Regions from separate parts of the Homo sapiens genome. Here region 1 is linked to region 2. The links are contacts of gene promoters, found by promoter capture Hi-C in human tissues and cell types (Jung and others, 2019). All regions are on one chromosome and are shown on one strand. The core of a region is centred on a gene start or on the middle of the fragment in contact, and the rest is flanking DNA. Distances in the headings are between cores, read along the strand shown.

Region 1 (3,888 bases), core at 85-2,584, 1.4 Mb before region 2:
AATAATTGCCAGAGGCACAATTAAGCATTGTTGCCTTGTTAAGCATTGTATCATTAGCCCCTATCGCAAAGTGAGAATTCGCTCAATATTCCCTTTAAAATACCTTTTAGTTGATACTGCCAAATCCTTTTCTAACCCCATCAATTATTTGACTCTAAATAAATCCGTTAGGAACAGTGGTAGCTTCAGGTTTCCATACAGGTGGGACTTGGAAGTAGCAATATGGTAAGAATGGGGATGTAGGGGTTTATTTAGAAACTGCATTTGCATGGCAAGAAAGCTAGTTTCATATATGTTGTTTATTTGGACTGGGGTTACGGAGATAACGAAGAGGGGGTAGTTAAAAGCCTCTTCAGGCCATGCCTTATCACAAACGTGTGGGAAAGGTTAATATTTTCCAGGATCGCCAGTGCGTTTGAGGAACTGTTAACACACTCTTTCATTTAAAAGGAAAGTTTTTAGTTTTATTTGCCTATTAATTCTAAGGCAGGGATGACTCCTCAATTTGCTTCTTCACCAATATAAAAAATGTCCATGTATTGGTGTTTACTTTTTAAAAGTAAGGCTGGTATTAATTTACCTCAAAGCACAGATGAGTTCATAAATAAGCAGTTATGCTTTCGTGGGATTTTCCATAAACATACAAATTGTATTTGAAAAAAAATTATATGACGAGTCTATACCTCACACTCTAAAAAGTTACCTTTCAATTATATACTCTCCCTTACACTACTCCCCACATATCAACGTTTCATTGGTCACTTCATTAACATAAGTTTGGACTAGTTTAAAGTAGTGAGGGGTAACTTTTTACTTCGAACACTGAAGGCTGCTAACTTTCCACTTTAGCAATTTAGCTAGTCAGGTTTTATCATCTGTTCTGGAACAAGTAGATGCACTTACCTATTGTGAGGTCGTGGACAGGCTGGAACCGCTTATCTGTAAACTGCAGGAGGAGACATGACTTCCCCACACCTGAAAGAGAAAGCACACTCCCGGAATCACGCAGCCCTGGAACACCTTCCAGAGTATGGACTTCCCGGACCAGAGAAGGGGGGCTCCCGAGCCCCGCCCCCGGCCGCCCCGAACCGCCCCGCCCGTCTCGAATCGCCCAGCCCACAAAGTGAGCCCCGCCCCCGCCACCCAATTTGGGAGCTTCGAATGCCCGCCCGAGCCTTGAAGGCGAACCACCTGAGGGTTACCTGTGTCTCCGATGATGATATACTTGAAGAGATAAGCATAAGTCATGGTGTCGCGTCCTCTGGGTTCCGGGTCCGCCCGACTTCTATAGCCACTTACCTCCGACCTCTCTAGCCACTCAATCTACCGATCTTCTTCTTCTCCCCCTTCCCCCCGCTCCCCCGCCCCTCCGGCTCCTCTAGCCCAGATCACGTCTCTATTGCACTCCCCGGAATCATCCTTAGGTCGGGAGTACCCTACGCCACCTCCAGGGACGCTTCTAGCACTTCTACATGCCCTTATCCCTCCAAACTCCAGGGGGCGATAGCCCAGCGCCTGACTCTCTGCAGCCCCACGGCGCTCCTTCCAATCAGCAGAGAGAACACACGTCCTTGCGGAAGTGACGGCAGTTCCGAGTCCAGTGGGGGCGGTGGGAGCGATGAGGGTCTGAGACGGTGGGAGCGGTTGTGTGAAGATGGAGGTAGGAACCTGATAGCTAAGAAGGCTGGCGAGAGAACGCGGCCGACCGGGTTGAAGCAGGGACGGGAAGCCGGGCGGAGAGGCGACTGACGGGAGAGGAGAGAGAGCGGGGTTTGGGGAGTGTTGTCAGAATGTCAGGGTCAAAAGCCATCGCTCCAAGCTGACTCCCTGCTCCCCCTAACTTATCCCCGCGACTTTCTTTTGGTTTCCAGTTTCCCGGAGGAAATGACAATTACCTGACGATCACAGGGCCTTCGCACCCCTTCCTGTCAGGGGCCGAGGTGAGCCAGAGCTGCCGACGCCGCGGGGGTAGGGCCTGAGGCAGCGGTGGGGTAGGGTAGTGGGGAGGAGAGCACGGACTCCGGGGACGGGGGCTGGGAACCAAGGGCCGCAATTGGTGTTTAGAGAAAAGTGGCGGTTGCTTCTAGAGCCTGTGGGGACTATCTGGGGAAGTCTTGGGAAGTTGCTGTCATCAGAAAGCAAGGTATTGGAAAGAGATAACCTGTTTAAAGAGAAAAGGGATTCTGGATTAGAAGACAGAGTGGAATTGTCTCCTTTCTCTGGGGAGAAATAGCTACAGTAATCTTAGGGGATCGCAGTGGAAAGAAAATGTTTCAGCAGCTGAAGAAATTGGGGTTGAGGGGAGGAGCTTATTGGTTTTCTTTTGTTTTGAGACAGAGTCTCGCTTTATCGCCCAGGTTGAAGTGCAGTGGTGCGATCTCGGCTCACTGCAACCTCTGTCTCCTGGGTTCAAGCGATTCTCCTGCCTCAGCCTCCCGAGTAGCTGGGATTACAGGCGTGCGCCACCACGCTCGGCTAATTTTTGTATATTTAGTAGAGATGGCAGTTTCACCATATTGGCCAGGCTGGTTTCGAACTCCTGACCTCAGGTGATCCACCCACCTCGGCCTCCCGGAGTGCTGGGATTACAGGCCTGAGCCATTGCGCCCGGCCTAAATTTCCTACTTTGATAAAAAATTTGTGGTTACCTTTACCTACATGGTGTCAGCTTGTTTTGCTAATGTCAGGAGGAAAGGAAATAGCTGCTAGAGAATATAAAAGAGTTGAGTAGGACATGTGTTTCAATTTGCCAGTGACTCAGACGTTGGGCACATTACTTCATCTTTGTATGTCACAGTTTCCCCAGCTGTCAAACAGCTGTAATTATAGTTTCTTATGCTGTTTTAAAGTAGAAGTAAAGGTTATGATGAAACCCTGAAGTGTTCGTTAAAAAAGTTTGGTTGAAATATTGTCATAATATAGATATGTATCACTTGTTTGGGAGAGGCAAAAGAGAATGGTGGAACAGACAAAAATTTCTGTCTTTGAGAAACTGAAGTCTTGAACCATCTGCCATTTTTTGAGGACTTTTATATTTATTTTCAAAAGTGGTGTGGACCATTTGCATCAGTTTTTTTTACCAAGAATTGTCAGTGGCTGTTGCATGGGCTTATCCTATAATCCTAACGTTTTCATGGATGAAAATGGGGTTGACAAGGGCCAGTTGCTAGTTTAACTTTTTTTTTCTTTCTTTTTTTTTTTGAGACAGTCTCCCTGTAGCCCAGGCTGGAGTGCAGTAGCACGATCTTGGCTCACTGCAGCCTCCACCTCCTGGGCTCAAGTGATTCTCCTGCCTCAACCTCCCAAGTAGCTGGGAATACAGGTGTGCGCCACCACACCCAGCTAATTTTTTTTTTTTTTTTGAATTTTTGTAGAGACGGGGTTTCACCCTGTTACCCAGGCTCTTTAACTCCTGGCCTCAAGTGATCTGCCCGCCTCAGCCTCCTAAAGTGCTAGGATTACAGGCATGAGCCAATGTGCCCAGTGCCAGTTTAACTTTTTTGTTGCTTTTATTTATTATTCTCATAAGCAGGATAAGTGTGAATCTAGTATGCAGCAAACTTTGAAATGATATAAAACCTAAATCTGGGCCCAGCACAGTAGCTCGTGCCAGTAATCCCAACTGTTTGGGAGGCTGAGGCAGGAGAATTGCATGAGCCCAAGAGTTCTAGACCAGCTTGGGCAACGTGATCAAACTCTGTCTCTATAAAAGATAATAATAATTAATTTTAAAAAAACAGGTGAGGCGGGGTGCGGTGGCTCATGCCTGTAATCCCAGCACTTTGGGAGGCCAAGGAGGGCGGATCACGAGGTCAGGAGTTCGAGACCAGCCTGACCAACATGTGAAACCCCATCTCTACTAAAAATACAAAAATTAGCCGGGTGTGG
Region 2 (3,939 bases), core at 976-3,475:
ATTTGGCTCAAATAACCTTTTATTCATACCTCACAATCCCTAAAACAGTGTTCATTATCAACCCACCTGACTGGGCTCTTCTCTCTGAAATGAGGACTCTTACTGTGTCCATACCTATAACTAAAGAATAGAGAAAAACAAAAGGTGAAACCTTATTCTCATTGGTCCAATGCTGGGTCTTCCATGGTGAGAAAACCAGATTCCAGTACTTCATCTCATTGTTTTTTTAAGACAGGGTTTCCGCTGTCACCCAGGCTGGAGTGCAGTGGCGCCATCTCGGGTCACTGCAACCTTTGCCTCCCAGGCTCAAGCAATCCTCCCACCTCAGCCTCCTTGTGTGGCTAGGATTACAGACACACATGACCATATCTAGCTCATTTTTGCATTTTTTGTAGAACCAGGGTTTCGCCATGTTGTCCTGGCTGGTCTTGAATTCCTGAGCCCAAGTGATCTTCTGGCCTCAGTCTCCCAAAGTGCTGGGATTACAGGCATGAGCCACCACACCAGTAAATTTTGAATACCAACCCTTTCTGTGCCTGAGTATCCTGCCAATCACAATGTGTTATAATAAGCACCCTCAAGCAGGGTTCATAGTGCATTTGTTGTTTTATCCAGATTATTATACAAAAGTGAATCTATTAGCAAAAAGTGATACCCAGTGGCAAGTGGAGGACTCCTGTAATGCACACGATCCTCACGACGATGGTCCCGACTTCGCGACTCACTACCATGTCGACGATCCCAGCTACGGCTACGGTGACGACACTGCCGACCTGGACTTCGGCTCCGACTATTTCTCCGTCTATACCGATCCCGATCTCGACTACGACTACAGAGGGAAACAACTACAGTCATGCCCACATCATGTTTAGGCCAACAACCAAGTGCATATACAACAGTGGTCCCATAAGATTATAACGGTGCTGAGAAGTTCGTATAACCTAGTGATGTTACAGCCACTGTAATGTCGTAATGTATTACTTATGTGTTTGTGGTGATACTGGTGTAAACCAAACTATTACCTACTGCACTCCCAGTTGTATAAAAATACAGCACATCCAATTATGTACAAAGTGAATCTCATGAAGATAGAAAGACTAGTGTTTACTAGAGGCTGGGAAGGATGGAAGGATGGAAGGATGGCGGCTGTGGGTGGAATGAACAGAAGTAGATGAATGGATACAAATATGTCATTTAATAGAAAAAATAAGACCCAGGGCTGGGCGCGGTGGCTCACGCCTGTAATCCCAGCACTTTGGGAGGCCAAGGCGGGCAGATCACCTGAGGTCGAGAGTTCGAGACCAGCCTGACCAACATGGAGAAACTCCGTCTCTACTAAAAACACAAAATTAGACCAGGCACGGTGGCTCACGCCTGTAATCCCAGCACTTTGGGAGACCAAAATGGGTGGATCACTTGAGATCAGGAATTCCAGACCAGTCTGGCCAACATGGTGAAACCCCATCTCTACCAGAAATACAAAAATTAGCCAGGTGTGGTGGTGCGCAACTGTAATCCCAGCTACTCAGGAGGCTGAGGCAGGAGAACTTCTTAAACCTGGGAGGCGGAGGTTGCAGTGAGCCGACGTCGCGCCACTGCACTCCATCCTGGGCAACAGAGTGAGACTCTGTCTCAAAAAACAAACCAAAAAAATTAGCCAGGCATGGTGGCACACGCCTGTAATCCCAGCTATTCAGGAGGCTGAGGCAGGAGAATCACTTGAACCTGGGAGGCAGAGGTTGCGGTGAGCCAAGATCACGCCATTGCATTCCAGCCTGGGCAACAAAAGCGAAACTCGGTCTCAAAAAAAAAAGAAAAAATAAGACCCAGTGTTCAACAAATCAGTAGGGTTATTACTACAGTGTACAATAATCTATTATACATTTCAAAATAGCTAGTAGAGAATAATTTGAATGTTTCCTAGCATCATGAAAAGATAAACATTTAGGTCAAGGATAACTCAAGTACACTGATTTGATCTTTACAAATTATATGTATTAAATTTCACACATACCAGAAACTACATACAATATGTATCAATTAAAAATTGTTTAAAAATAAAACAATTACGTACAGTATATACTTCACGATAAAAAGTAATGATGTCACTGATTCATGTATTTACTATATTTATCATTCTAGAATATATTACTTCTACTTCGGTTAACTATAAAACAGCCTTAGGCTGGTCCTTCAGAAGGTGCTCCTAAAGAAAGCACTGTTACAGCAGAGTACAACTCTATGTGTATTAATGCCCTTGAAGACCTTCCAGTGGGACAAGATGTGGAGGTGAAAGACCCTCTGCAGGCCTAGGCTCATGTGTCTTTGTGTCGTAGTTTTCAACAATAACAATAATGTTTAAAAAGTAAAAGACAAAAAAATTTAAAAATAGAAAAAAGCTTATAGAATAAGGACATAAAGAAAACTTGTAGAGTTGTACAATGTGTTTGTGTTTTAAGCTAAATGTTTCAATTTTTTATTTTTATTTTTATTTTTTTTGAGACAGGTTCTCCATCTGTTGCCCAGGCAGGAGTTTAGTGCTGCAATCTCGGCTCACTGCAACCTCGAACTCCTGGGCCCAAGCAATCCTCCAGCCTTAGCCTCCCAAGTAGCTGGGAGTACAAACATGTACTACTACACCTGGGTAATTTTTAAATTTTTTGTAGAGACAGGATTTTGCTATGTTGCCCAGGCTGGTTTTGAACTCCTGGCCTGAAGTGATCCTCCCGCCTTGGCTTCCAAAGTGCTAGGATTAAAGATACGAGCCACTGTGCCTGGCCCAGAATTACTGACCTGCGCTTTCTATCCCTGCTTTTATTATGGCTCCGACTCCTCTTCTTCCTGTGAAAGAGAGTACATTCTTCTTTTTTTTTTTTTAATTTTGAGAAAGAATCTCGCTCTGTCGTGCAGTGGTGCAATCTTGGCTCACTGCAACCTCCGCCTTCCAGGTTCAAGCGATCCTCATGCCTTAGCCTCCTGAGTAGCTGGGATTACAGGCATGTACCATCATGCCCAGCTAATTTTTTATATTTTTAGTAGAGACAAGGTTTCGCTATGTTGGCCAGGTTCATCTTGAACCCCTGGCCTCAAGTGATCCACCTGCCTCAGCCTCCCAAAGTGCTGGGATTACATGCATGAGCCCCGCGTGAGCACCGCGCCAGGTCAGGAGTGTAAATTCTTAAAGAGAAGGTTTCGTTATTGCTGCCAAAGAAAAGGAATTACAGTAAGGCCAGAATGAAACAGAAAGCATGAAAAAACCAAAGACCCGAAGATGATCCAGCAGTGGTTCACAGCAATTGCACAATACCAACTTACAGCCCTGAAAGCTGTCAGGCATCTGAAGAGGCCATTTTTCCCCCTAATGCGAAGCAAAACCTGGTGTTTCCAAATCAGGGGTCCTCTTGCTATTTTTTTTTTTTTTGAGACAGAGTCTCACTCTGTTTCCCAGGCTGGAGTGCGATGGTGCGACCTCGGCTCACTACAACCTCTGCCTCCCATGTTCAAGCAATTCTCCTGCCTCAGCCTCCTGAGTAGCTGGGATTACAGGAGCCTGCCACCGCGCCCAGCTAATTTTTGTATTTTTAGTAGAGACGGGGTTTCACCATGTTGGTCAATCTGGTCTCGAACTCCTGACCTCAGGTGATCCACCCACCTCGGCCTCCCAAAGTGCTGGGATTACAGGTGTGAGCCACCACGCCCAGCCCCTCTTGGTATTTTATTCAAATGAAGTATATTGATGCTAGGACTAATCCACAAATCTACACTGGAAAATGAAGACTAGATAATTAAATCAAGTCACCATTATTCTCATGACCTAGGTGGAGCCATTACTAACAGTCAGCAGTCTTAACAGAAACAATCTCCCTATTCTGGTTATTTTTCCAATGGACAAAACTGTTTCCCTTCCCCAAGTTGCCAACCCATTTCTTCCTCCCACAC

Evidence for each region. The method cuts DNA at HindIII sites, captures the fragments that hold promoters and counts their contacts. A contact is called where the count stands out against the background at its distance.
Region 1: a contact is called between the fragment with the promoter of RAB2B here and a fragment that was not itself captured in region 2, in 1 of the 25 tissues and cell types used here (heart left ventricle).

What each region holds. Positions count from the first base shown.
Region 1 is chr14:21,475,625-21,479,512 of GRCh38, forward strand. It overlaps RAB2B (RAB2B, member RAS oncogene family), which reads right to left and starts at 1,335. Exons shown (of 8, transcript NM_032846.4): 1 at 1,203-1,335; 2 at 904-975. The coding sequence starts at 1,248. TOX4 (TOX high mobility group box family member 4) reads left to right here and starts at 1,571. Exons shown (of 9, transcript NM_014828.4): 1 at 1,571-1,660; 2 at 1,872-1,940. The coding sequence starts at 1,655. RefSeq lists enhancers at 752-871, 1,452-1,521. The HindIII fragment of the contact is 11,571 bases long and covers 1-3,888 here.
Region 2 is chr14:22,905,540-22,909,478 of GRCh38, forward strand. RBM23 (RNA binding motif protein 23) reads right to left here. Exons shown (of 14, transcript NM_001077351.2): 4 at 2,794-2,841; 5 at 656-829; 6 at 67-120. Among named protein-coding and RNA genes, the nearest start is that of RBM23, 12 kb to the right of the region's middle. The HindIII fragment of the contact is 8,113 bases long and covers 1-3,939 here.